Linked DNA regions of Homo sapiens: regions 1, 3 and 4 are each linked to region 2. Evidence: promoter capture Hi-C in human tissues and cell types (Jung and others, 2019). All regions are on one chromosome and are shown on one strand. The core of a region is centred on a gene start or on the middle of the fragment in contact, and the rest is flanking DNA. Distances in the headings are between cores, read along the strand shown. Region 1 holds the start of ZNF710 (zinc finger protein 710). Region 2 holds the start of UNC45A (unc-45 myosin chaperone A). Region 3 holds the start of CIB1 (calcium and integrin binding 1). Region 4 overlaps ZNF710 (zinc finger protein 710).

Region 1 (7,112 bases), core at 4,094-6,593, 930 kb before region 2:
CTCTCTACCAGTTCCCAACCCCCATGCCATTTCCGCTAAGACCAGCCTTTTAGGAGCCCTAGGTCCACCTCTGCTTTCTGCAGCGCCTGTCTAGTTGAACCTTGGGGTCCTCGCCTTTCATTGGCTGGATTCCTGTTGGGAGTCTTGATATTAAAAGTTGAATATTAGATATTGCAAAGCCAATAATATCTTTTAAAATGTTTGTTTGGTTCTGGCAATGAAAGAAGCAGATATTAATAATCACCTGCTAATCTCCCAGCAAATTACTCTAGTGAACATGTCAACTGAAACGTCGAAGAGCTGTGTTTCATCCCTTTTCTCAGCTTACAAGATTCCTGGGATTCTCAGAGATGGCTAGAACATCCTGGAAGGGTCTGCAGCAGGAATGTATCCTCTATCAGGGAAATCAGGATTAATAAACCTTATAATTATAAACCTACCTTTGAATTTCAGCTCTAGGGAGGCAGCTTTGGGGCTTCTGAAATGCCCAGGGGAGACCTCCATTTACTGCTTTTGTATCAAAAAAGCTGATTTCTTTCTTTCTGGTGTGAATCTGGAGGATTCCTTGCTGGGTTTGGGCAAGTCAGGAGATTTGGCTAAATAGTGATGTCTGCAAGCTTAGGGCCTCACTGGGACCTTCTAACGTTCACATAGGCTTTGAAATTTACAAAATACAGTATCATACATTACACATCATATATTATCGGCTTCCACTTCTCCCAACAACCCTAGAAGGTGGGCATTATTTAAGTTAAAAAGGTGTCACAAAAGGAAGTGGGTCACCTGTCCAGACAGGTTCTCACAGGGAGGTAATCTGTAAGAGAGGAAATTGGTATGGAAAGTGGAGGAGACTCTAAAGAGGGGAAAACATGTTGAAAGAGAATTCCCAAAGGGAAACCCTGTCTACACATTCTGGCTCAGACACTCCATGGTAGTGACCTTAGGAAGTTTTTAAGCTTTTCGGTGCCTCAGCCTCCTCCTCTGTAAAATGATAATGACACCTACCTCAAATAAAGTGCTTAGCCCAGCCTCGCACTAAGGTGGCTGTACAGGTATGTTTATCAAAGCAGGTTCATAAAAGCGAAAAACCTGCAAACATCCCATGAGTCTAACAATTTGTTTAAACAAATTAAGATACACACATACCATGGAATAATATCATTCACTAAGAATGACAATGTGGGCTGGGTGAGGTGGCTTATGCCAGTAATCCCCACACTTTGAGAGGCTGAGGCAGGAGGATTGCTTGAACCTAGGAGTTCGAGACCAGCCTGGGCAACATAGCAAGACCCAGTCTGTACCAAAAAACAAAAAGAAAAAATACAGCCGAGCATGGTGGCACACAAATGTAACCCTAGTTACTCGGGAGGTTGAGGTGGGAGGATGGCTTGAGCCCAGAAGTTCGAGGCTGCAGTGAGCTATGATCATGCCACTGTAATCCAACCTGGCTGACAGAGCAAGACCCTGTATCCAAAGAAGAATGTGGATGTTTACAGACCAGAAGATAATTTGTGACATATACCGGGTGAAAGTAGCTGCAATTCAGTAGGTGTAGTGTTATGCCATTTTTGTTAATTTTGTAAAAATAACATGCTTATACATAGAGTCATCATTTGCTTAATGATATTGACTTTGTACAGTTTTATTATGGTGTGCACTTACATGTAGCCACTAGGATATAAAATGTCCAAGGATATACACCGAAATATGTCTCTAGATAGGGTTCGTTTTCGAATTCTTTCACAATGAACTTGTGTTGTAAAGAAATAACAGAGGGCTGGGCGCAGTGGCTCATGCCTGTAATCCTAGCACTTTGGGAGGCCGAGGCAGGCAGATCCCCTGAGGTCAGGAGTTTGAGACCAGCCTGGTCAACAGGGCAAAACCCTGTCTCTACTAAAAATAAAAAAAAAATTAGCTGGGTGTGGTGGCACATACCTGTAATCCCAGCTACTCGAGAGGCTGAGGCAAGAGAATCGCTTGAACCCAGGAGGCGGAGGTTGCAGTGAGCCAAGATCGTGCCACTGCACTCCAGCATGGGTGACAGAGCGAGACTCCCACTCACGAAAGAAATAATAGAAGTGTAAAATGTTTACAAAGCAGGAACTGGAGCTGTGGTATCTGCCTGGATCCTTGAGGGCATTTGGCTGGTGCCAAGTTCATGTGCAGGTCACTTGGAGAACCAATAATCCAACCAAAGGACTAAGAGGTTTTGGGAGCTTTAAATCACGTTGTGGAGAAGTCAATAATCACCCCCTATCCCTCCCCTGCTCCTCCAGTGCAAACTTCTGTGATTACGTCTCTCTCCTGAGCAAACATAGCCAGGTGCCTGCTCCCAGGGGCCTTCCTGGATTTCATGAGGCCCATCCTCTCCTGATTCCTATTTGTTCCTCAGGCAGGCTACAACTCTGCTGATCAGGCTGGGCCTTGATAACCAGTCATCAAGCTCTGGTCATGTTCCTGAGAAGCCACCTGGCCATCTTGATCGGATGTGGTGTTCACCAATCCCAGCCTCCCAGTGGGACACTGGTCATCTTTGAAGGAATGCTTCCCCCTCAGTCAGCTCATCATGTTTCTGGTGTGGTGAGTCACTCTGGTTTCAACCCTGAACGTAATCTTATTTCCAGGTCATCGGGGCACTACCCAGTCACTCCCTGATTTGTAGTAATAGTAAATAAAAGCTACCGGGGATTGGTGCTTATGTACCGGACACCATGCTAGGTGTGGGGTTTGAGCCTCACAACAAACTGTGAAGCAGGTATTTTTATCCCTATTTTACAGAAAAGTTAGAGAGGTTGACTTGCCCAGGAATATGCAGCAGGTAAGCCTGGGCCCTTAAACTAAGACACTGTCTCTGCAATCCACAGGTCTTCTTACCTGCATTTTATATGTCCCGAAATTAAGTCGAAGTTATTCACTGAAGTTATGTTATTCATTTACATTCATGAAGTTAGCAAGTGGGAGGGGCTAAAATCTGAATATTTCCCTGACACCCTCCCCTTTTTCCCACTTGTGCTCTATCCTCACTCTCCCCCCACCCACTTGTATTCTAAGCTGCAGTAAACACTTCAACTCTTGACAGTTCTAAGAACCTGTAATAATGTGCCGTCTTGCCCTGGGGCCTTTGGACAGACTGTTCTCTCCCATGCATTTGGCTAGCACAGCCTAATCTAGACACGACCTCCTCCAGGAAGCCACACCTGACCACCTTAGTCCAAGCACCCTCTTAGGAGCTTTCTTGGTTCACTCTTGCCTGTATCGCATGGCACTGAGGTTGCTGTCTTCTTTTCTTGCTCCTTCGCCTGCAAAGCCAAAGGCCAAAGCAAGGACTGCGTCTTGCTGATGATTCGGTCCTCAGCAGCCAGCACCTTCGCCGGCACGGGGTAGGTACTCAGTAGGCATTTGTTAAGTGCATGCTTGGCTCTAAGAGCTGCATTCTGCTTTTTTGGAGGATGCAGCTTGGGTGTACTAAGTGGGAGGCTGCAAGTGATGACGGAAATGTGGTTTCCTGCAGACCTGGGCAAAGGCCCTGGGGTCATTGGGGGCTCAGGGTGCTGATGTTAAAAGACCATGGTGTCCTTCTTGTTGAACCAAACTCTCAGGCTACTGTTTCCTCACTCCTCGTCAGAGACAAATGTGTTCTGAGTGACTGGAGTCATAGCTCAGAGCACCAGGAGCTGGTTTAGGGTGGGGCGAGGGGCCGTGGCCTTGGGGCTCTCGTTTCTAAAGGCCCAGGGCTCAGGGCTGGGGGGAGGGGTGAGGAGTGGCAGGTCGTGTCCCCGGGAGGCTGCAGTCACTGGGGGAGAGACAATGGGGCTCAGCATCTGCTCCTCCCTGGGAGAAGGGACCCTTCAGTGAAAAGCCAGGGAGAGCAGGGAAGTGTGGGAGGAATTGATGAGGAGAAGGGGTGGAGCCAAGGAGATGCAGCCGGGAGGAAGGAAGGGAAGGGAAGGAAGGGAAGAGGGAGGGGAGAGGATCCAGGCTTTCCTTCCTCCCGGTGACCTGGTCCTGAGCCGCAGCTTCCCTTGCATTGTTCCCTGAGTTTGCTCTCGGGGCCCACCGAGACCTCACGTTTCTCCCCCTGGCTGCAGCCCCAGTCCGAGGGCCCGGCATCCAGCAGGTGCTCAATACTTACTTGGGAAAATGACAAATGTGACCAACTTTGCTTTGGGAACTTTCCCCCGTCTTCTCCCCACTCCTCCGGAGAACCCGAGGACAGAGCAGGTCTTGGGAGCACGCCCGGGCGCCCCATGAATAATTGACCCTTCCTGGCGGCACTGCCCGGCTCTGTCCGAGGGCTCCGGACCCGCCCTGCGTTGCAGTCGAGAAACGGCTCGGAGTGGCGGGTGTTCTGGAGGTTGGAGGCCTGGTGTCCGGCCTGCGCCGGAGCTGGAGGGCGGCGAGGCTGTGCCAAACCCCGCGGCCCCTCAGGGAGCCGAGAGGGACCTGACGGCCGCGCTGCCAGCGACCACGCCTCGGCGCCCCCCAGCAGTGCGCCCCGGGGCCGAGGCCCAGGCCCTGGGCTCGGGGACCCCGCCAGCCCGCCGATCCCAGCAGCTGCCCTGAGCCCCTTCTCCACCCGGGCCCTGGCGCTCGGAGCCCGCGCCGCTCCCTCGAGTCAGGCCGTCCAGGGCTCTGCTAACAGCTGTTTAAAGGCTTTTGCTGTTCAGTGCTCTGCGGGGATGTTTGTTCCAGGCCCATCTGCCTACTTTAAAAATACATAAGTGAAGCACACACACCCAGCTTGCCACCTCTGGCTGGGGAGGGGCGGGCTCGGCGGCCCTCGCTCGCACTTGGGAAGGAACCGGCACCCAGGAGCCGCACCCGTGCCCCAACACCCGCACCGGCTCTCCTCTCCAGAGGACGCCCCTGGCTTCCCTTGGGGGGGGCGGGGCGCAGGGCCCCCGGGCCCCCTTTGTACCGGACAGGGCCGGGCCCCCCATTTCCAAGCGAGGTCTGCCTCTTCCCCGCTTCAGTTAATCTTTGTTCCCCTTTTCTGCTGAGAGGAGAAAAAAAAAAGAGAGAGAGAGAAAGAAAGAAAAGAAGGAAAAAAGGCGTGACTTGATTTTCAAACGAAACTCCCACAGCAAACAAAACCCTTTTAGAGAAATAAGAAAGGAGGAAGAAGGAAGAAAAGAGGGAAGAAAAAAACAGGAGAAAGAAAACCCTTCAGGCTTTCAATTCGAGTGGGAGAGTTGAACCGAAAGAAAGAGAAAGAAAGGAAGAAAAATCCTCTGCGGTAGAAAGAGAAAAGAAAACTTGGGCTGACAAGAGGGAGGTGTTGGGGGTGGAAGGAAGTGAGAAAACAAAAGAGAGATAAAAGGGCTGCTTTTCTGTCTCTCTCTTCCTCTGCGAGCTGGCTTAGGAGGAGCTGTTTTGCATCCCTTCACGTCAGCCCTGCCTCATTCCCTTCTTCCAGGGAGGGAGAGAGCGCGAGCGAGAGAGCGAGCGAGAGGAGGGGGGAGAGAGAGAAAGAGAGGAGCCGGAGGGAGGGCGGCAGGAGCAGGCGGCGGGCGCGCGTGGAGGCGGGCGGCGGGCGCACAGCAGCAGCCCGGGCGGTGGGCAGCCAGGAGCCCCCGGCCCGGCCCGGCCCGGCCCGCCGAGGGCCCCAGCGCAGGAGCCGCGCCCGGACCCAGGGTGAGTGTCCCGCGCGGCCCCCCGCCCCAGCCCCAGCCCCAGCCCCGCAGCCCCGCGCTGCCGGCCGGCGGGGGCGCGGGGGGCGCGGGGGTGGGTCGCTGCGGCCGCGGCCGACCCGCCCCCCGCCTCTCCCTGGGGACGGCCGCGCGCAGGCCCGCGCCGCGCTGCAAACATGTCGTCTTTTCCTTTCACTTCCACATTCCCTCATGCCGGAGAGCTGGAGGGAGAGAGGGAGAGCCGGGGAAAGAGGGAGAGATGGCGTCTGGGGTGGGGGGGAGGGAGAGGAGGGGGAGGGGGAAGGGAGAGGGAGGGAGCGAGCGAAAGAGGGCGAGAGGGAGGAGAGCGCGCGAATGAGAGAGAGAGAGAGAGAGAGAGAGAGAGAGGCAAAAATGAAAGGAAAGCGTCGCGGCGGCGGCGGCGGCGGCGCGGGAGGCCCGGGAGGCGACGGTGGCGGAGGCTCTCGGGCCCGCACGTGGGTGTCCCGGTGCTGGGTGCGCTCCCCCCACACCCGGCCCGGGACTCAAAGTTTCACCCCCTCGCCGCCCCGCCCCTACGGCTGCCCACAAACTTTATTCTCGGAGCGGGTGGGGTTGTTGCGCGTCCCAGCCGGCCGGGGGTGGGGGAGAGCTGAGCGCGCCGCTGGCGGGGCTGGGGGCGTCCCCGAGGGCCACTGGCCGCCGCACGCTGGGCGCCGCGGGATCTCCGCCGGGACAGCGTCGGGGCGCCGCGGGCCGGGGACCCAGGACCGGCGCTCGCTGTCTGGGGGCGTGGGGGTGGGGGTGGCGGGCGGGGTCCCTACGGCCCGTCTTGAGCCTCCCGCGGCTCAGCCCCCCTTCCTCCTCGTCGCCCTCTCTCCGTCTTCTCGCGGTCATTTTCCTAATTGGATGGAGCTGTGGGGCGTGAGCACCAGCGTCAGATCGGGGCCCTCAGGCTACCAGGTGGGCGCGCGGGCTCGGGGACCGACGGGGCAGCCCCAGCCTCCCCACCCTAGGCGCACAGATCCCGCAGATCCGGCCCTTGGGCCACCGCCCCCTTCACCGCGGACTTGCTAACTAGTGCGTATCGGGTTTTTTTCCAACTTGCCTTTTAAGATGACTTTTATGGGCGCTGCAACTGCTTCCCTCCAGTCTAAGCTGTAGTTTGGAAAGATTTAAGAGGCCAGGGAGGTGCTTGTGTGGATTTTAACCAACCTGAAAGGGTCATTCATGTATCTCTAGGATTTGCGAGACGGTTAGGGCAAGGCGTAGCAGTATCCGGGGTGCCTTTTCTTTTTTCTTGATATGGAGTCTTGCTCTGTCGCCCAGGCTGGAGTGCAGTGGCGCGATCTCGGCTCACTGCAGCCTCCGTCTCCCGGGTTCAAGCGATTCTCCTGCCTCAACCTCCCCAATAGCTGGGACTACAGGCGCACGCCACCACGCCCGTTTAATTTTTAATTATTTTTAGGAGAGACGGGGTTTCACCATATTGGCCAGGCTGGT
Region 2 (6,790 bases), core at 997-3,496:
CAGGTTCTGTGGGCAGGGGAGTCTACCTTTGGACCCTCCAGGAGACCCTAGGGCCTGACCTGAAAAATCAGAGCCTTCCCTGGGAGCCCTGCCTAATTGCTTCAGACTTAGGCTCCCAGGTAGCTGTGACGTTTCTGCAGGAACTGCCTTTGTTTGTCCTCAGTGTTGCAGATGAAATTTGCCTTGTCTTCTTATGCTATGAGAGCTCCTATTTCAGTCTCTAGGCATCTTCTGTGGGCCCCTGGGGTGATGAGTGTTGTCACTGCTGTCCTGGGAGCATGATGTTGTCAGGCCTGGGTAGGCACTGGAATAACACTTAATTCTGCTGGCTGGTGGCCTTCTGGAGAAATTCCCTGCCTTAGGGGCAGCTGAGGGGTAAGAGAGACCTGGTGATCCCCATAGAACTTCTCTGTGAGAGGGGGTTCCCTATTAGCTAAGTATACTCTAATCAGACATGTAGCTTTTGTGTTCTGGCTGGTAGCTGGGGCAGATAAGGCTCAGGGGAAAGGCTAATGAAAGGAGTCACCCTTGGTTTTCAGCTAGTCTTGGTGGTTGCCACGTAGCAGAGGTTAGGGAGGGAAGCCCCACATGCTGGAACTGAGGTCTCTGGGACCTGAAATAGGAGGGTCAGAATTCCCAGAGCTTCCATGGCAGCCTGGAAGTTGGAGAATGGGTAGAAACATATTTGGCTGTAAATGCTTGTTTGTTCTTCATACTAATGGCTCAGCTGCTCTCTCATCCCTCATTCTGTCCTCTAGTCCTTTGAGCCTTCTCTCCTTCAGCAGTTTGGCAATGCAGGCCCCACGTTTTCCAACAGGAGACAGAAACCCAGTCCCTGTCATCTCTCTCTAAAAGCCTGTGATAGAGAAGCTTCAGGCTCGTATTAATGGTGCCCAAGGGCCTTGGGGCTTTGACTTTTATTTCCTTATTGTCTGCAGTCACGGCCTAGAAAGAGAGATGTTGGGGTTCCCAGGACCAGGACAGAGGTGGTAGTGAACTCTCATGGGCATCCAGAGAAGGTCAGGCCCCTTGCTGACAGGCCTATCTGTGGGGCTACTGCTGCTCTTCAGCTGGGTGACCCTTGTCCAGCCAACCTCTCTCTCAGGTACAGCACTTACCCCTGTGGCCCACCTGCCTCTGGTGCTATGGGCTATTCCTGGGAACTGGAACTGATGGGGATGGGTGGAAGGGCATCTTTTCTTCTGGTAGGGGCTGATCTCTTTTACTCTCCAGTAGGGGTGGAGTGAGCTGTGGAAAGGCCCCTCCTGCTTGTCTCTAGCACCCCCACCTCTCTCTTCAGCTCTGGTCCACCACCCTCACTTGTGCCAGACCACCCGGGATGTCCATGGCCGTCACTACCCTGGTTTCTTTTGCCCTCGTCTGTCTGATTCTCCAGAGGAAGCCTACTGCTGCCACCTGCAGGCTGCAGGGGGCTCCTGCTGCACCCGGGCTGAATTTGAGGCCCTGTACCAAGTCAATCTGTCCGCTCTTCCGCCCCCGCCCATCCTCAGGTGAGATCTCCAACCCCAGAGCCACTGGAACATCGACAGGGTGTTCCAGTATCTGGGGCTCTGTTCCTAAATTATGGGGTGGTAGGCTTGTAACTTACAGACTAGTGAAGGGACAGACCGCAACAGAAAATCATGTAGATCATGATTACAATTACAAAGGAGAAGTTCAGGGGGCTGTGCAAGCTGGTAATGGGGAGCCATCCTGAATCTGCCCATGGGTGGCTCTAGGATGAGCTCCTAAATTCGTATGCAAATGTGTGTATGTAAGACGACACTTATTTGGGGAGGGAGTCCTGAGCTTTCTCCGGACTCCCAGGGATTCTGTACCCCCCACAGAGCGCAGCAGCGAGAGCGCGGTCGGGGCCGGGATCCAGATACTTTTTCTCTCCCGCAGGGGCCCAGGCCCGCTCCTAGTGCTGGGCCTCTACAACCTACTGGTTGTGACCCTGATGACCGTAGACCTCGTGCACTTCTGCTGCGGTCGGGGCCGGAGTCTGGGCTGGAGCCACCGCAGGCCTCCCTCTGGGTCCTCCGCCGCGAGCTCCCTGCAGGTCTCTGCGGGGACAGCTTAGGTGCGCCCGGAGCTTGCCTGCACCTGCGATCCAGAGCCAAGCGCCCCGCCCCTGCCCGGGCGCGCTCCCTCCTTAGCCCTGCCCCTCTCTGACCCCACCTCCGACGCAAGAGTGGGGCGGGGCAGCTGCCGGTGGCGTCCCGAACCCAGACTCGCCCCGCCCCAGAGACTGCGCCTGCGCGGGCACGAGACAACCTCTCCGCGATGACTGTGAGTGGTCCAGGGACCCCCGAGCCCCGGCCGGCCACCCCCGGGGTGCGTACCCAACCCCCGCGCCATCACCCCTTCGCACCCGCCCTGACCATCCCTGGCCTCCTTCTCCCCATCCATGAGGCTCGCCCCGATCCCTCCTCTCCTCTCCCCTTAGCTCCCGGGCTCTGCCCCGAACCCCCTCCGACGTTTCCGCCCCCTTTCTCTCTACAGGCCAGCTCAGTGGAGCAGCTGCGGAAGGAGGGCAATGAGCTGTTCAAATGTGGAGACTACGGGGGCGCCCTGGCGGCCTACACTCAGGCCCTGGGTCTGGACGCGACGCCCCAGGACCAGGCCGTTCTGCACCGGAACCGGGCCGCCTGCCACCTCAAGCTGGTGAGGGAGCCTGGCGCTCTTCCCCTCGCCCGCCCGGGCCCCGGTTCGCCCATCTAAGCTGATGCTTGGGCCCCAGCTGGACATTCACGCTCCCAGGCCATCCCCGCTTGCCAGATGTTTTTTGCACCTCAGGGTGGTGGGGGATCGGGTGACCTTGGAGAGCGAGAGTACCCCTGCTGCCTGGTTAGTGCCCCGAGAGGGAGATGACCATTCCTTCAGGCTCCTGTCTTTCTCTTACAGGAAGATTACGACAAAGCAGAAACAGAGGCATCCAAAGGTAGGGGAATGGTGGGCCCTGGTGTGGAGCTGTAGGGCTTCTGTGGTGGGCAAGGACTCTGGGACCGCTGCACCGTCACATTCTCCTCCTTTGGCCCCAGAGACACATCTGCCTTCTTTCTTTCCCACTGCCTCGGGCCTTTCCTTTTCTGCAGCTACCCTCACCTTTTCTGAGGCTGAAGCACCGAGCCCCACATTCGTCCCCCCCACCTTCTTCTGGCCTTTCCTCGAGATCTTTCCCTACTGCTCTTGCCTGGAGACAGTGGCCTCATGGGTGCTGACAGCGCTCCTGTTTGTGCTCAGCCATTGAAAAGGATGGTGGGGATGTCAAAGCACTCTACCGGCGGAGCCAAGCCCTAGAGAAGCTGGGCCGCCTGGACCAGGCTGTCCTTGACCTGCAGAGATGTGTGAGCTTGGAGCCCAAGAACAAAGTTTTCCAGGAGGCCTTGCGGAACATCGGGGGCCAGATTCAGGAGAAGGTATGTGAGTGACCCAGAGAGGTGGAAGCATTGACTGGTGGTGAAGGGGTCTGGGCCAGGGGTGTAGACACAGTTCTCCAGACGAGATCCCGGTGGCAAGTGAACCTTGCCTGTGGCCAGGGAAAAGCAAATTAAGATGACAGCACATTACTGTTGATTTGGAGGTCTGTCTGGCAGATATTTAAAAGTTTGTACACTTTTCGAGAAGGAGAGAGGCAGACACATCAGTGGTGAGGCTGGGGGCCAAGGGCTCTCTGATGACTGCTGGAGGGGTATAAATTGGTACAGCTCTTTTCGAGAGTACTTTAGCATATCTATTCAATTTCAAATGAGCGTATCTTGTGATCCCATATGTTTACTTCTTGCTGTTTCTCTCAGAGAAACCTTGTCCACGTGCACAAGTAGACATGTGTATGTTTATTTCAGCCTTTTTTGTAGTAAGAAAAACTTGGAACTTGCCTGAATGCCCAGCCATAGAGGAATGGCTGAATAAATGGGTAATGTCCTTACTACAGACTCTTATATAGTTACTGAGAATAGGTAGATACACACATATTGAAATGGGAAGCTCTGGGACACTTGTTGAATGAACAAAGCAAAATAGGCAGGGCATGGTGGTTCATGCCTGTAATCCCAGTGCTTTTGGAGGCCAAGATGGGATGATCACTGGAGGCCAGGAGTTTGAGACCAGCCTGGGCAACATAGTGAGACCCTGTTGCTACCAAAACCTAAAAAGTTAGCTGGGTGTGGTGGCACACCCTTGTAGTCCCAGCTACCTGTGAGGCTGAGGCAGGAGAGTCCTTTGAGCCCTGGATTTTGCAGTTACAGTGAGCTATGATCGTGCCACTGCACTCCAGCCTGGCTGACAGAGTGAGGCCCTGTCTCTTTCAAAAAAGAAAAGAAGAAGAAAAATATACAATAACACATATAGTATAATATCATTTATGTTAATGATCCCCTACATAGCAAAACAATGCTATATTTTTTCTGTGGGTACACTTGGGTATGTAAATACAAAGGAAAATAATTGTTTTTTTTTTTTTTGAGACGGAGTCTTGCTCTGTCGCCCACACTGGAGTGCAGTGGTGCGAACTTGGCTCACTGCAACCTCTGCCTCCCAGGTTCAAGTGAGTCTCCTGCCTCAGTCCCCCAGGTAGCTGGGACTACAGGGGCCTGCCACCACGCCCGGCTAATTTTTTGTATTTTTAGTAGAGATGCGGTTTCACTGTGTTGGCCAGGATGGTCTGGAGCTCCTGACCTTGTGATCTGCCTGCCTCGGCCTCCCAAAGTGCTGGGATTACATGTGTGAGCCACTGCACCCAGCCGAAAATATTTTATTTTTTAAATTTATTTTTATTTTTATTTATTTATGTATTTTGAGACGGGGTCTCACTCTGTCACCCATGCTGGAGTACAACCTCTTCCTCCCGGGCTCAAGCAGTCCTCCCACTTCAGCCTCCCAAGTAGCTGGGACAAATGCATGTCACCACGCTCGCCTAATTTTTATATTTTTTGTAGAGACAGGGTTTTACTGTGTTGCCCAGGTGGCTGGTCTTGAACTCCTAGGCTCAAGGGATCTACTCACCTCAGCCTCCCAACTGGCTGGGATAACAGGCGTGAGCCATGGCACTGGGCCAAATATGCATTTTTGTTTCTTTATTTTTTCAGGAAAATATTTTAAAAGATATACATCAAAATGATAACACGGTGACCCCTGGGGAAAGGAATGGGATTGAGAGGGCTTTCCAAAGGAGACTGCATCACCTGTTCATATTTTTTTAATAAAGAGAAATTGTGTAAAATACGTATATTTTTAAATTAGGAGAAAAGAATCTAAAGACCATTATGAGCTACAACCAAGCTCAAATTCGCCAGATAATTTGACGTTAAAATGCTGACACAGTGGAAGCAGATAACATGATGGCAGACACCTCACTGAAATGTTGAAGCCTGGGAAAGCAAATAGGTTTCCTCTCTCAATGCCAACTCTGATTGGCAGTGGCTGCCCAGAGTCCTATGTTGAGAAGAATTAGGAAGCAGATTGCCTGAGCCAAGCAGGGGAACGTGCCATGACTGGTTAGTCATGGCTGCCATGGATGCAAGAGAGGAAGGCGGGTGGTCCACATGCTAGGCTTGTGCCACCATCTATGCCCAGGACTCTGGGGGGTGGGGGAGTAGGCCTAGGATGATCTTCCCCATTCAGATTATTTATTTATTTATTTATTTGTTTGTTTTGAGACAGTCTTATCCTGTCACCCAGGCTGGAGTGCAGTGGATCTCTGCTGACTGCAACCTCCACCTCCCAGATTCAAGCGATTCTCCTGCTTCAGCCTCCCGAGTAGCTGGGATTACAGGCACCCGCCACCACACCTGGCTAATTTTTATATTTTTAGTAGAGACGGGGTTTCACCATGTTGGCCAGGCTGGTCTCAAACTCCTGACCTCAGGTGATCTGCCCACCTCGGCCTCCCAAAGTGTTGGGATTACAGGCGTGAGCCACCGTGCCTGGCTTCAGATTTTATTTATTTATTTTTTTGAGACAGAGTTTCACAGTTATTGCCCAGGTTAGAGTGCAGTGGCGTGATCTCGGCTCACTGCAACTTCCGCATCTTGGGTTCAAGTGATTCTCCTGCCTCAGCCTCCCGAGTAGCTGGGATTACCGGCATCTGCCACCACGCCCGGCTAATTTTTTGTATTTTTAGTAGAGATGGGGTTTCACCTTGTTGGCCAGGCTAGTCTTGAACTCCTGACCTCAGGTGATCCACCTGCCTTGGCCTCCTAAAGTTTTGGGATTACAGGCGGGAGCCACTGCGCCCAGCTCAGATTATTTTTAAAACAGTGAAAAGAGAATTCTGGAGCTAAAGGAAGTGTTAGCAACTACCTCACGATCTGCCAGCTCCCTGGCAGGAGGTATAAATGCTGAGTTCAGTGCCATGGGAAGCCCATTCACGCTGCCACAATGTAGATGGCACCACTGGGAGTGGGTTGCCTCGTAGCTGACAGGATACCTCCCCTCCGAAAAGGCACTCCAGCATCGGCGCAGCCCCTGCTGCCCAAGCAGGAAATAGCTCAGAAAGAAAAACAGGTGCGGGAAATTTAGGAGGCACTGCCAGGCAAGTCTCTTCCTGCCCAGGGTAGCTAGGTGCTAGCCCTGAGCCTGGACATCTTTACTGTGCCTCCCAGAGTGAGGAGCTGGAGACAAATGAATAGGGAGTGTGATGTCTCTGGCCAAGAGCCGTGATTTGTTCCATGCTTTGTTGGTTTGTCTAGGTGCGATACATGTCCTCGACGGATGCCAAAGTGGAACAGATGTTTCAGATACTGTTGGACCCAGAAGAGAAGGGCACTGAGAAAAAGCAAAAGGTATA
Region 3 (7,328 bases), core at 2,967-5,466, 700 kb before region 2:
AGGTTCTGAACCTCTTCTTTGCAGGCTCAAGTGAGCCAGAGTCAGCCTAGCCTGGTCAGCAACGTCTCCCTGTGGGGCGGCTCTGAGGTGGGGAGCTTAACGCACTGATAGGCGGAGGCAGGGGGTTCATTGCGTTTACCTCAACCCCTTCATTCTGCATCCCCAATTCAGTTTAGCAAGGGTAGGGACACAAGGGAAGGGATGGGATGGGATGGGGGCCCTGTATTAAAGTTTTTAATTCTTCAGATCATGCAGTAAAATAGACTTTACTGATGTACGGTTCTTTACATTTTGATGCATGCAGAGACTCATCTAACCACCACCCCAATCAGGATACAGGCGAGTCCCACACCTCCTGCTGCCCCTTCATCCTCACACCCTCCCACGGGGACAGCCAGCGTGGGTGCGGCTTGACTTCCCGCTGGCCTCTGCTCGATATGCTGCTTATTCCTAGGATGATTGAAGGCTCTTAGAAGAGAAGTCCAGTCCTTCCTCATACCAGTGTATCTCATGTCACACATAGGGTCAAACTTCTAAACCTTTATTACTGATTAGTACAAACACAAACGGAGCAATGACAACAGCAGTGAGGAGAGGCCCTGACAACGAGGGCCGCCCCTGCCCGGGGTGAGGCTGCACAGCGCCAGCTCCAGGCTGGGCCAGCTTGGCCCGCACTGGCAACACAGGCTTGACCTTGGCCACAGCTCAGCAGTAGAAAGGTTCTTGGACAGGGTGCCAGGACACACGCTGGGGCTGCTGTCACAGGACAATCTTAAAGGAGCTGAACAAGAGAAAAGCGGTGGGTTTTCTGCTGGAAGAGGAGGGCAGGGACTAAACCCGAACTTGCCCCCTTCTCCCTTTAGACCCTTCTTTGGAACGGGCTATGTTCCGTGTGTCAGCCCCCTCTGCAAGAACTCCCCGAGACATCCAGAGGGAGCTTTCTGGACCCACACACTGGGTCAGAGCTTCTAAACCTTTATTACTAATGAGTACAAACACAGAGCAATGACAATGGCAGTGGGAAGGGGAGAGGTCTTGACAAGGAGGGCTGCCCCTGCCCGGGGCGAGACTGCCAGCTTAGCCGGCCCTGTGTGTGGGGACTGGGGCTTTCTCTCACCCTGGCACCACCTCCTGTAGCCATGCCCTAGGCCCAGAGGCAGCAGGTCGGAACCTGCAGGTACCCAGAATGAAGGGGGACCACTGTCATACCTGGCAAAGTCTGGAGAACGGGAGATGACGTGCTGGAACTCAGAGAGGTTGATGGTTCCATCCCTGTCAATGTCAGACTCCTCCAGGATCTGGGAAAGGGAGAGTTTCAGGCCAGAGCCCCAACTGCTCCCTCCCGCTCCCAGGCCTGCTCAGCTGCTCACGTTGTCGATGAGCTGCTTCATCTCAGACGCACTAAGCCGTGTGTCCTCGCCCTCTCCCGTGAGGCAGTTCACCAGCCGGCTCAGGTCTTCTCTGTTCAAGGTTCCGTCATCATCAAAGTCTAGAGAGCAGACACAGGAAGCCAAAAGACACGGTTGGGAGGGGCTCTGAGGTTCCCCAAACGGCGCCCATTTCCCAAGCAGGGCCACCACAAAGCCCACGTGGGAAGGGGTGGTGTCCTGCCGGGCTGCTCCTGGTTCTCACCAAAGATGCGGAAGGCATAATGGGACTTGATGTCTGGCGTGGCTGTGTCACTGAACACACTGAGGAGATCCAGGAAGTCCTCAAAGCTAAGGCTGTCTTTGGCTGGGGATGTGGAGAAGACCCTGCAGATTCGCTCCTTGAAGGGGTTGGCCTAGGAGAACAAACGCCACAGGACGTGGCCCAGGTCACACGCTCATTAAAGCCTACCAGAAACTTGAGAGAGCAGGTCACAGGACCAGCACCAGCGAGCTCAGCCTCGTGGGGGTGAACAGTCAGTGCTTTGGGGCCAACATGGAGGGCAGTGGGGGCACAGGAAAGCAAACTGACCCAGCTGGGGAAGGGACTGAGATGGCTTCCTGGGAGTCAAGTGTTTAACCCAAAGGCAGGTCACATACAACGTAAGTGTGGGCAGAGAGGGAAGAAGAAGTCATCCTAAACAAAGGGAACGAGATGGGCTGGTTATTTTAAAACACAAATATTTACTTGAACAGCTATTGTGTTACAGGCACCGGGCCAGGCCCTTTGCACAGAAATTTTGCAGCAGCCTTACGGAGTGGCAATCAGCCTCTAGAACACGGTTCCTCAAACTCTAATGAGGTACCTCAACTCCTCTTAAGGGACAAAACTTCTTTGAACTTCCAAGATTATGTTCTAGAATCCCCATTTGAAAAGCACCATTCTAGATAATTCTGCCAGGTGATTTTGGTAAAGTCCTTGCCCCTAGAAAATCAGAACTAAGCAGAAAAATGACCAGAGTGGGGACCAGTGACCCCATGATCCCAAAGCTAGTGGCAGATGGAGTTAGGGGGTCTAGCAGGGAGGGAGTGGTGGGAGAGGTGTCAAAGGAGGGGAGCGCTTGCACCTTGAGCTCTGGAAGGCTGAGAATCTGCTCGAAGGGCACTTGTGCCCGAAGTGACGACTCCACGCTCCGCTGCTCCTGGGGAAGCAGCTCACAAAACCGCCTGTGGGCTCTGGTAGAGAGAGGGGAACTGTCGGTGTTCTCAGCGATCGGTCTCCCTGTGTGTTCATTCCCACTCCTTGCCTGCTGCTCATTGTCAACCAGGTGAGGAGCTAAAACCACGTACACAGAACTTCCGAGTCATCAGGCAACGGTAAGCAAAAGGACATGTCACAAGGCAGTACAGCCTAGGAGTCTATTCTTGCAATGAGTATTTACTGAGCATTTACTATGTGCTTGGCACTGATTCTAGAGATCCCCAAGGGATGAAGAAGTTGGGAAAGGAGCCAGAAGTTGGCCCTAAAGAATTGGCCAGGCACGGTGGCTCACACCTGTAATCCCAGCACTTTGGGAGGCCAAGGCGGGCGGAGCTTTGGAGGTCAGGCGTCTGAGACCAGTCTGAGCAACATGGTGAACCCCTTCTCTACTAAAAATACAAAAATTAGCCGGGCATGGTGGCGGGTGCCTATAATCCCAGCTACTCAGGAGGCTGAGGCAGGAGAATCACTTGAACCCGGAGGCAGGAGAATCACTTGAACCCGGAGGCAGAGCCTGCAGTGAGCCAAGATCGTGCCCCAGCACTCCAGCCTGGGCGACAGAGCGAGACGCTGTCTCAAAAAAAAAAAAACGGAGAAAAGAGCAAAACCAAAAATCTCATTCTCACCTTCACTCCAGGGATCTCTTACCCTCAAAGCCTCCTTTTTAGCAACCACACTGAACTGTCCTCCTCGGCCTCCACCTCCTTCCCATGAGCTTATCTTTGCCACAGGAACCTGGCCTGCATAAATCCGGCAAAAGGGCTTCCAGCCCAAGTTCAAATCTACTTACTCAGAGTGTTGTCTTAAGCAGTTACCAAACCTTTCTGAACCTGTTTCATTGTCCAGTACCTCTCTCCTAAAGATTAAATTAGGTAACGCAGGCAACCATTTAGCACAGTCCCTGGCACATGGTGAGTGCTCAGAAAGCGATAACGGTTACTGTATTATTCAGGTAAAGTTGGGAGAAGGAGCCGGGCTCCCCAAGGCTTCTGTGGTTTAGCCACTGGGCAAGGTCGGCCCCTGCCGGACTGGGGCAGGAAGTTCGGCAGTGCTGAAGCTAGTGGAGCCCAGGGTCAAAGAGCGCCTAACTTTTCCTGGAGGCTGTAAGGTGGCTCCGCGGTGCCACGCTGGGGCCTCAGGCGAGGGCGGGGAGGGCGTGCCGGGAGGAGGGCGCAGCCCGGGCTAGGTCTCCCGGCCTCCAGCTCCCGCTCCTCTGCAGACCTCAGGCCAGCCCCCGCCCCTCCCTCGGGACAGCGCCCCCGAAGCTGTCTCTAGAGGATCCCGGGGTCGGAGGCAGGGTTCAAGGCAGCACTTACAGGAGGATCTCCTGCTTCGTCAGGAACGTCAAGTCCTGGAAGGCAAAGCCAGAGCGGGGATTAGCGGACCGCTGGGAGGCCGCGGCCGCCCCGCAGCCAGCTCCCGGACCCTGCTCCCGAGAAGAGGCCCGCACGCGAGCTCCCCAGGGCCAGGCGTCCCGCGCACCTGGTACTCGGCCAGCAGCTCCTTGGACAGGCGACTGCCCGAGCCCCCCATCGCCCCGCCGCGCGCACAGCTCCGCCAACTCGCCTCGAGACGCAGACAACTTTCTCACTTCCGCCCTTGGGCCGCGTCACTGCCCGGTCCCCGCGGCAACCGCTCCTGGGGCCACCACCCCCGGGCCCGCCCCCTCCTAAAAGCTGCCAGGCGTTCCCAGCCGGGTTTGGCAGGCGAGCTGCCGGCTCCAAGCGGTCCTAGGCGAGCTGGAGGCGGGGCCCGGGGAGGGGCCCGACGCTCCGGGGCGGAGCCCGGGACTCACGGCCCCGCCTCCGGGGTGGGAGGGGGGGGCGGGCCACGCCGCGCGCGTGCGTGCTGGCTGCGTATGCGTCACGGGCGTCATGACCTCGCTGTGGCCCCGGCAGCGGCTGCGGGGAAAGTCGCGAGGTGCATCCGCTTCGGCTGCAGTAGGTGGTGGCGGCGGCAGCCCTGGGTGGGGTCCCATAGGGGCATCTGAGAAGTCACTGGAGCTAGCGTTTCCGGGAAACCTGGAGACTCGCTGAGTGGCGGGGGTCGTCGGCTGCCCCTCTGCCCAGCAAGGGCTTTTCTAGATGTTATCATCAGGCAATCGCTGCACCTGTCGCAGCCCCCAAGCCACCTCTTCCAGAAGTAACCATAACCTTGCTTCCTTCTTAGGCTATTTACTGAGGACCCACTGGATGTCAAGCATTGTGCATAGTTTTCTTCGATTGTTGCAACATCCCTTGCGAGGTAGGTTCCCATTTTACAAAGATGGAAATACGTAAGTCCAAAGGGTGTTAGTGATTTTTCCGGGCGCCGGCATTTAGAAGGTAATCGGTCCAGTCCAAGGCACTTTTAAAGGCTCTCCACTGCTGTTCTCATCATTCCAGCTGACCTGCCGTCCTTTTGACTCCATCTCACCCCTAGACTGCTGACCCTTTGCTCTTGTCCCCTCTTAACCTCTAGGATAATGTTTGGCACATAGTAGGCTCTCAGTAAATATTATCGAATGCATAATAAATGAATGAACGTATACTATTGCAAAAGGTAAGGATTCCAAACTGCTGGGAGGAGGAAGTGGAGGTTGTGTTGGTCAGGCTGGGATTAATTCTTGATCCTTCCAATCCATTATACTTGCTGATCTTTGTAAAGTCTAAATCTGAGTATGTTAGTCTCAGTTTATAACCATTAAATGGTTAAAAACCCAAATCCTGGCCCTCTGTAACTGGACTTCCTCCTATTGGCTCTCTGTCTTTCAGCCACTTTGGGCCCTCAGTCCCTCTTCCATCTCATCCTCAGGGAAGCCTTTCCTGACTCCCTAGACTGCCTAGGAATCTACTTTACACTGGAAGAATACCCAGTGCTCTCCTTGGCAGCATGTGTTTGATAAGACACACTGTATTAACAGGTACATTCCATCATTGTAGAAATATTCAAGGCCAGGCGCGGTGGCTCATGCCTGTAATCTCAGCACTTTGGGAGGCTGAAGCAGGCGGATCATTTGAGGCCAGGAGTTCAAGACCAGCATGGCCAACATGGCAAAACCCCATCTCTACTAAAAATACAAAAATTAGCCAGACATGGTTAAACCTGGGAGCTGGAGGTTGCAGTGAGCGGAGATTGTGCCACTGCAGTCCAGCCTGGGCAACAGAGTGAGACTCTGTCTCAAAAAATAAAAATAAAAAAAAATAACTAGGGTATAGGCCCATCCCAACCTGATCATTTTTCTCTTTTTTTTTGAGACAGAGTCTCGCTGTGTCGCCTAGGCTGGAGTGCAGTGGCATGATCTTGGCTCACTGCAAGCTCCGCCTCCTGGGTTCACGCCATTCTTCTACCTTAGCCTCCCCAGCAGCTGGGACTACAGGCACCCGCCACCACACCCGGCTAATTTTTTTGTATTTTTGGTAGAGACGGGGTTTCACCCTGTTAGCCAGGATGGTCTGGATCTCCTGACCTCGTGATTCGCCCACCTCGGCCTCTCAAAGTGCTGGGATTACAGGCGTGACCCACCGTGCCCGGCCGATCATTTTTCTCTTAATAGCAGGCTCTTTCTGTCCGAGAAAGAGTTAGTCTTCTGTTAGTAAAAGCTTAGGCAAAAAGCAAGAAGCTGTCATTATGTCTCCTGTACTAAATAGACCTTGTTTGCCTCTTACAAGCCAAGGCGAATACCTGGACTGCATGGTAATAAGTATCTGTCTTCTTTTTTTTTGAGACAGAGTTTCACTCCTGTTGCCCAGGCTGGAGTGCAATGGCATGATCTCAGCTCACCGCAACCTCCGCCTCCTGAGTTCAAGCAGTTCTCCTGCCTCAGCCTCCTGAATAGCTCGGATTACAGGCATGTGCCACCACACCCAGCTAGTTTTGTATTTTTAGTAGAGACGGGGTTTCTCCATGTTGGTCAGGCTTGTCTCGAACTCCCAACCTCAGGTGATCGCCTGTCTTGGCCTCCCAAAGTGCTAGGATTACAGGCGTGCGCCACTGCACCCAGCCATAAGTATCTCTTTATAGTGAAGACATGAGAGTCAGCTTTGTGCCTGGTGACCAGCTGTGATCTAGATCTCTCAGTCACTTCACTTGGCTCTGAACCCTTCATGGAACAACCTTTGGTTTTCATTTTGCTTCCTGATTCATTTTGTACACTGACCAGCCAGCAAGAACCTTTTGTGCCATTTGGCATATTTCTCATTGTAAATTATTTTTATTTGTGAGATGGAGTCTCACTCTGTCACCAGGCTGGAGTACAGTGGTATGATCTTGGCTTACTGCAACCTCTGCCTCCCAGGTTCACCTGATTCTCATGCCTCAGCCTCCTGAGTAGCTGGGATTACAGGAGTGCACCACCACGCCCAGCTAATTTTTGTATTTTTTTTTAGTAGAGACGGGGTTTCACCATGTCGGCCAGGATGGTCTCGATCTCCTGATCTCTTGATCCGCCTCCCTCAGCCTCCCAAAGTGCTGAGCCACCACGCCCGGCCTCTCATGGTAGATTATTAAATGGGCAGTCTGAATCATTTGGTAGTCCTCGGTGAATCTGGTTAGCATATTGTCCCTCCTGTACCTGATCAACTCTTGGTACAGTGATAAAACCGAGCTGCTGATATACTTTTATTTTTTATTTTATTTATTTTTTTGAGACAGAGTCTCACTCTGTCACCAGGCTGGAGTGCAGTGGTGCGATCTTAGCTCACTGCAACCTCTGCCTCCCA
Region 4 (6,414 bases), core at 343-2,842, 920 kb before region 2:
TATATAATACAAGGCTGTAATTTACAGGCTATAGCTTCACCAGGGGAAGAATTTGATGTCTTTAAGAGATACAAAATCATCCAGCTCCGGCTGTCCTTGTGTGTGGTGCCATATTTATTTTCTAACTTGGAGTCATCATTCTTTAAGAAAGAAGCAGGGTCCTTTTGGGCTGAGGAATGCTCTCGGGGGTAGGAAGTTTTCGGGATCTGTGGGCCTGAGCTGGCATGTCCAACATCCTGTCACTATACTGCTTGGCATCTTGCAAGGGATGCATCCTAATGACCCATCCTGTCCACTTTTGTTTGGTTACTTGGTGAAGGTGGGAGTGTCTTGAACAGCATGGTGCTGTTCCCCTGGAAAGTTTATACTCATCAGTGCCCAGTTGTTTGCAGAATTCGAGAATGGATGGGAAGCACCCAGGAAACGGTTCCCAAATGGATGCATTTTGATATCTGAAATAGACTTTAAAGCTTTTGGCTTTTGATCATAAAGGGACCGGCAACATTGAGACACCTCCCCACTGCTCCTCAGGTTTTCCTGGTGCTTGAATAATTAAGGCCATGCCCTATGGAATCTCCTTCCTTGGGCTCCAGGGCATCTCTCTTAGCAAAGGCTAGCTTCTCACTCACAGTGTGCTGTGAGCGCTCTGGACGTCCTACCCAGCATTCTGCTCCATCATCTTCTTGTGTTCTGTCTCCCCCAGAAAAACTTCTGTGTAACATCAGCTGTGTTCTTTTGCTTCAATTACAGAGCTTGTTAGAATTTCTCTTCCAAATCCCTGTTTTGGGGCTTTTCTTTTCTTTTTTCTTTTTTTTTTTTTTTTGAAATGGAGTCTTGCTCTGTCACCCAGACTGGAGGACAGTGGCGTGATCTCGACTCACTGCAACCTCCGCCTCCCGGATTCAAGCAGTTCACCTGCCTCAGCTTCCTGAATAGCTGGGATCACAGGCGTGTGCCACCACACCCAGCTACTTTTTGTATTTTTAGTAGAGCCGGGGTTTCACCATGTTGGCAGGCTGGTCTTGAACTCCTGACTTCAGGTGATCCGCCTACCGTGGCCTCCCAAAGTGCTGAGATTACAGGCGTGAGCCACCGCGCCCAGCTGGGGTTTTCCTACCGTGGTTGTAAAAATTCATTTCTTGTCGCCACCTAGATTAACAAATCTCAGATTAAGAACTGGCCTTTTTTCGCCTCCTCTTTGAATTCACTGTCTAAAGAAACGGCCATTGCCCTTTCCGTAAACCAGGACAGAGGTCATGTCTGCTTTGCCTTTTTGCACCTTGGCCCCTGCCTGCCCCTCACCTCCCCACTCAGCTACAGTGACTGGAAGGGCCCACACAGGAAAGCTGGGCCCTGGGTCTTCATGGACGTTGCTGGAGGATGTGTCTCCCTGCTGGTGGCTCTCAGTCTTCCTGTGCTCAGTAGGGCCTTCTGGAGGATTCTAATTTCCCTGTCCTGGAAACCACCTTGAAAATATTCTTAAATATTCTTAGGTGGATTTAAGATGTCTCTGTCTAGTGGTTTTTTGTTTGTTTGTTTGTTTTTTAATCCATCTTAGATTTGAATGCCCAAGGAATGAACAGTCTCTTGGATCTTGTATCTCTTCCTTTTGTTTTTTAGAAAATAGCTTTTATTGATTTTTTTTTCTTGCTACAAAGAGGTTGATGATTATTGCAGAAAATTTAGGGACTATAAGTAGGCAAAAAAGATAAAAACCACCTATAATTATTAATATTTTAGTATATTGTATAGCCCCCCCAGAATATTTTTCAATTTCAAAAGATGAGATCATACTGTTTGTACCATCTTATTACTTTTTCTTTCTTTTTTTTTTTTTTTTTTTTTTGCTTTTACTTTACAACATGTGATTAAAATTTCCATCAGGTTAAGCAGCCTCCGTCAAGTCACTTTAAAGGGTTGTATAGTTCTTTTGAACAGATGGACTATCATTTATTTAACCAATCTCCTACATTTAGCTTGTTTCCTCTGTTTCTGTCTTGTAAAGAATGCTGTGGTAAACATCCTTGGGTATATTTGCCCACAGACTTGGTTATTTCCTTGGGATACATCTCCAGAAGAGAATCACTGGGCCAAGGACACATTCTAAAGGCTGTTCGTCTAGATGGGTAAATTGCCCCCAGACACATTGTATCATATTTGGATTCTGTTTAGCCAAATACTAACTCCCATTCTTTTAAACATGGTTGTGAGTCTTTCAGACCTCTGTTTCCTAATGTTTCTCACGGGTCATACAGGTTGGCTGAGAGTAAATGGCAAGGAAGGGCCTGAGAGACTCCGGGCACAGCTGACCTAGGAAAGGGAGTCTGTCATCCTGGCCCGTCGCTTTACAATGGGAGTGCGAGGGCTGGGCCCAGAGACCCTGTCTTGCCTCCCATGACCCCAGGAAGCTGCAGGCCTGTGGCTCCCCAGGGTAACCTTCTCTGGTGCCAGCCGTTAGGGTGCCCGGGACAGAGAGCTGGCTTTGAGGATTCCAGAGTCTGTCAGAGAACTTAGGCTGGTCTTTCTTCCAAGAGAATGCTCCTAAACAAACATCCTGCCCTAATCCAGAGACTAGGTTGGTGCTTATTGGGGGGCGGTGAGTGGGGGAGCCGAGGATTTCCTGTGGAGGCCTCAGACTCTAGCCCAGGAGTCCAGGCCAAGGAAGTGCCTCTGCCCAGACTTTCAGCCCCTTGAAGCCCAGTTCTTCGTCATCACTTGGTGTGGGGAACAGAGGGAAGTTTGATGGAATTACTGAGGAAGTAGCATTTACGTGGTCTAAATCGGACCTTCCTGTTCCCACTGCTGACCGGCTCTTCCTCCTTTTCCGCTGTCTTCCTCCTGCGTGACAGCGCATTCTTCATGGGGCCTCTGGGGCCCTTCCTGTGGGCTGAGCTTCTTTCTTCCCTTTTCTCTCCTGCCGGGACCTAGACTGGTGCCCACCTTCAGGACTGGGCACATCCAGGCACCTCACAGCCCCTTCCCTCCTCCAGCTCTGCTACCAACGCCCCTGCACCCTTCCGTCCAGGCAGGGCTGTCCCAGCTGAGGCCCAAGCCCAGCCCACCCTTTCTTCTCAGTTCTGCCAAGAAGGCCATGGGGGCTGGTGGAGGCCCGAACTGCCTCCCCGCCCCCGGGGAGACACAGCATGCCAGCTGCTGCCGGGATGGGTTACAAAAAACAAAAACACAAACCCCAGCCCCTTGAGATGAGGGACGTTTCGGTTTCTGTGAACCTGACGCCTCATGTGTGTTGGAAATGAGAGGCGCAGTTTGGGAGAAGGAGGCTGCATGTTTCCCCTGGGGTGGGCTTTGTTTAAATTTTAATATGCTCTTCCTTTTTCTCAAAGTGCCAGCAATGGCTCCCAGCTCCTTTGTCATTTTAGCCCCGTTATCTGTCTGGGGATGAGATCTCTTATCTGCCCGGTCCTCCCTCTCCTCCCTGAATGGCGGGTCCCCCACCCGCCTCCCCGCAACTTGTGACAGTGTTACAGATCTCATTCTGCAACCTTAGATTCAGATGAAACTTGTCACTTTGCTTCTTTAATCAATTAAGATTTGGGGAAAGCAGGGGTCCATTTGTGATAGTGTTGGACCCACCAAGGGCATGAGTAGTGGGCAACTTTGGAGTCCTGTGAGAGAGGGTGTGGCACCCCCCCCCCCTTAGCAGCCTGGGGGACGTCAGCTCCAAGGGTGAGGGTTTCAGCCCTGGGTTCCTTGCTATGGAGTCAAACGTTTCTCCAGTGTGTGTTCAGACTTCTGACCTGGACCCGCCTTAGCCTTGGGGAGCTCTCTCAACTGCGTCCTTTGTTGGATGGAAACTGCATTAGACACAGAAACACAGAGCTGCTCTTTTCCCCACAGGCAGGTGCAGACCTGAAAGAGCCCCGCTGAAGCGGCTCAGAGGCAAGGGGAGGACCTCATCCTTAAGTCACAGGACTCAGGATTAGAGGACCTACAGCTTTCAGCCTCGGCTCACCATCTCCTAGCCCTGATGACCCACAGCCTCCCCAAGCCTTGGTTTCACAGCCTGTAAAATGGGTTCATGAGCCTACTTTTCATAGCTACACTGTGTGTTTGTATATAACCCATGGCTATCACTATTACCTGCGGACCGCGGTGCTATGAAGTCAGGAGACAGGCCTGCACCATCCTGAATCCTCTGTTCTCTGAAAAATCGCCCTTTGTTCTCTCTTACTTCCTTCATTCAATCAGCAAACATTTACCAACTACCTACCATGTGTTAAACTCTGTCATATTAAGGTGAATGGCATGGTCTCTCTCCCCAGTGAGCCCCCAGTCCAGAAGGGGTACTAGATATTGGATATAGACACAAAAGCACAGGAAGTTAGCTCTTCGAATGTGCTGGGGGCAGGGGGCTGTAGGGAAGACTGCTTGGTGGAGGTGGTGTCTAGCTGAGTCCTAGCAGACAAAGGCGGCATGGGGGACCAGGCGTGGTGGCTCACACCTGTAATCCCAGCACTTTGGGAGGCTGAGGCAGGCGGATCACCTGAGGTCAGAAGTTCAAGACCAGGTGAACATAGCAAAACCCGTCTCTACTAAAAATACAAAAATTAGCCGGGCATGGTGGCGCATGCCTGTAAGTCCCAGCTACTTGGGAGGCTGAGGCAGGAGAATCGCTTGAACCAGGGAGGCAGAGGTTGCAGTGAGCTGAGATCCAGCCACTGTACTTCAGGCTGGGTTACAGAGCGAGACTCTGTCTCAAAAAACAAAACAAGGCTGGGTACAGTGGCTCACGCCTGTAATCCCAGAACTTTGGGTGGCCGAGGCGAGCGAATCACGAGGTCAGGAGTTCAAGACCAGCCTGACCAATATAGTGAAACCCCATCTCTACTAAAAATACAAAAATTAGCCGGGTGTGGTGGTGCATGCCTGTAATCCCAGCTACTCAGGAGGCTGAGGCAGGAGAATCGCTTGAACCTGGGAGGCAGAGGTTGCAGTGAGCCGAGATTGCGCCACTGCACTCCAGCCTGGGGGACAGAGTGAGACTCTGTCTCAAAAAAACAAAACAAAACAAAAAGGAGGCATGGGGGACTCAAACATGCAAAGGCAGCAAGGGACACACTTGAGGAGTCCGAGGGGGATTGTGGGTGAGATGGTAGAAGATGAGGCTGCAGGTATAGGTAGGGACCAACTGAGAATGTGTCAAAAGGCTCGGGCTTCATCCTGAGGCCTGGGAGGCCACTAGTGGGTTCTGAGCAAAGAAACACTATGGCGGATCACTCTGGCATAAGCCGGGAGACTTGGGGCTTGTGTTGTTAAATCCCTATGGGGAAATCCCTTTGGAAATGTTGACCTGAGAGACGAGAAACCCCTCAGAGGAATACATATGGCACTTTTACTTGAATTCCTTTTCATTTCGCCTAGAATTTCTGCTTTGCACCAGCTGTTTACATATAATTTACAAAAGTACATTAATGGGCTTGATTGTGTTTCTTAAAACTCACTGAGAAGTAACCCCAAGTAAAATTTTTCCACTGGGGCATGTTCTTAATACATATTTATAGTTACTGAATCCATTTGAGAATGTAGAAAGCTCTTTTGAAATGTTGCGGGAGTACATGACATCTTCAGGTAGGGTTTTCCCCAGTCCTGGCAAGGGGAAGAGAAGGAGAATTAATGTCTGTCAAGTAGCTGCTATAGGCCGGACACTGATCTAGATTCTTTGAATTCAGTGACCCACTGAGAAATAGCATTCCTCTCCCCATTTTACGGACAGGGAAACTGAGGCTTATGAAGGTGGCTGCTTTCCCAAGGCCTCGCACCTATAAGGAGTGGTAGTGGGATTTGAACCCAGATGCGATGAGTCCAAAGCTCACACTCCATCCATTGAACCACTCTGCCACCCAGCTCCTAAGACCTACCAGAAAAGTAAAGCAGGAGCTACAGAGGTAGGTGAGCCACTGGACAGCCTGGTGGCTTCTAGATAAAAATCAGAGCTAAAACACCAGCTCATTTCCATTCTCCTTGCACAAGTTCTTCTGCTGGCTGACAAACTGGAAGCCAGCCCTTCTTTGGGTAGCACTCTTCCAAAGAGTGATAGCTGCAAGTTCTTGGCTACATTCTGAGTTGGAGGTTCAGCCCACTGCATGGAGCAGCAGGTAGGAAGTTGGTGCCTGTAGGTGGCATCAAATTGAACATAAACACACTTGCAGGTGAACCAGGCATGGTGGCTCATGCCTGTAATCCCTGTGACTCAGGTGGCTGAGGCAGGAAGATCTCTTGAGCCCAAGAGTTCACGGCTGCAGTGAACCATGATCACACCACTGCACACCAGCCTGGGTGACAGAGTGAGACCCCAACTCTATTAAAAGCAAAATAAAACAAAACAATGCTTGACCAGGCATGGTGGCTCACACCTGTAATCCCAGCACTTTGGGAGGCCAAGGCAGGTGGATC

What was found. Contacts are between HindIII fragments. The study calls those that stand out against the background at their distance.
Region 1: a contact is called between the fragment with the promoter of ZNF710 here and the fragment with the promoter of UNC45A in region 2, in 1 of the 25 tissues and cell types used here (spleen).
Region 3: a contact is called between the fragment with the promoter of CIB1 here and the fragment with the promoter of UNC45A in region 2, in 1 of the 25 tissues and cell types used here (liver).
Region 4: a fragment that was not itself captured here is called in contact with the fragment with the promoter of UNC45A in region 2 in 1 of the 25 tissues and cell types used here (spleen).

What each region holds. Positions count from the first base shown.
Region 1 is chr15:89,995,981-90,003,092 of GRCh38, forward strand. It overlaps ZNF710 (zinc finger protein 710), which reads left to right and starts at 5,344. Exons shown (of 5, transcript NM_198526.4): 1 at 5,344-5,634. RefSeq lists silencers at 4,796-4,965, 5,374-5,542, 5,958-6,457 and enhancers at 6,157-6,925, 6,926-7,112. The HindIII fragment of the contact is 12,330 bases long and covers 787-7,112 here.
Region 2 is chr15:90,933,039-90,939,828 of GRCh38, forward strand. It overlaps UNC45A (unc-45 myosin chaperone A), which reads left to right and starts at 2,247. Exons shown (of 20, transcript NM_018671.5): 1 at 2,247-2,337; 2 at 2,506-2,667; 3 at 2,908-2,944; 4 at 3,247-3,422; 5 at 6,693-6,785. The coding sequence starts at 2,287. RefSeq lists an enhancer at 1,333-1,432 and a silencer at 2,063-2,462. The HindIII fragment of the contact is 5,793 bases long and covers 1-4,656 here.
Region 3 is chr15:90,229,725-90,237,052 of GRCh38, forward strand. It overlaps CIB1 (calcium and integrin binding 1), which reads right to left and starts at 4,217. Exons shown (of 7, transcript NM_006384.4): 1 at 4,111-4,217; 2 at 3,945-3,979; 3 at 2,495-2,603; 4 at 1,633-1,783; 5 at 1,371-1,489; 6 at 1,210-1,298; 7 at 251-781. The coding sequence starts at 4,161. The coding sequence ends at 760. GDPGP1 (GDP-D-glucose phosphorylase 1) reads left to right here and starts at 4,485. Exons shown (of 4, transcript NM_001013657.3): 1 at 4,485-4,568; 2 at 4,798-4,872. RefSeq lists silencers at 3,710-4,159, 4,180-4,619. The HindIII fragment of the contact is 18,702 bases long and covers 1-7,328 here.
Region 4 is chr15:90,017,364-90,023,777 of GRCh38, forward strand. The region is part of intron 1 of ZNF710 (zinc finger protein 710); the gene reads left to right. Among named protein-coding and RNA genes, the nearest start is that of MIR3174, 14 kb to the left of the region's middle. The HindIII fragment of the contact is 6,651 bases long and covers 1-4,918 here.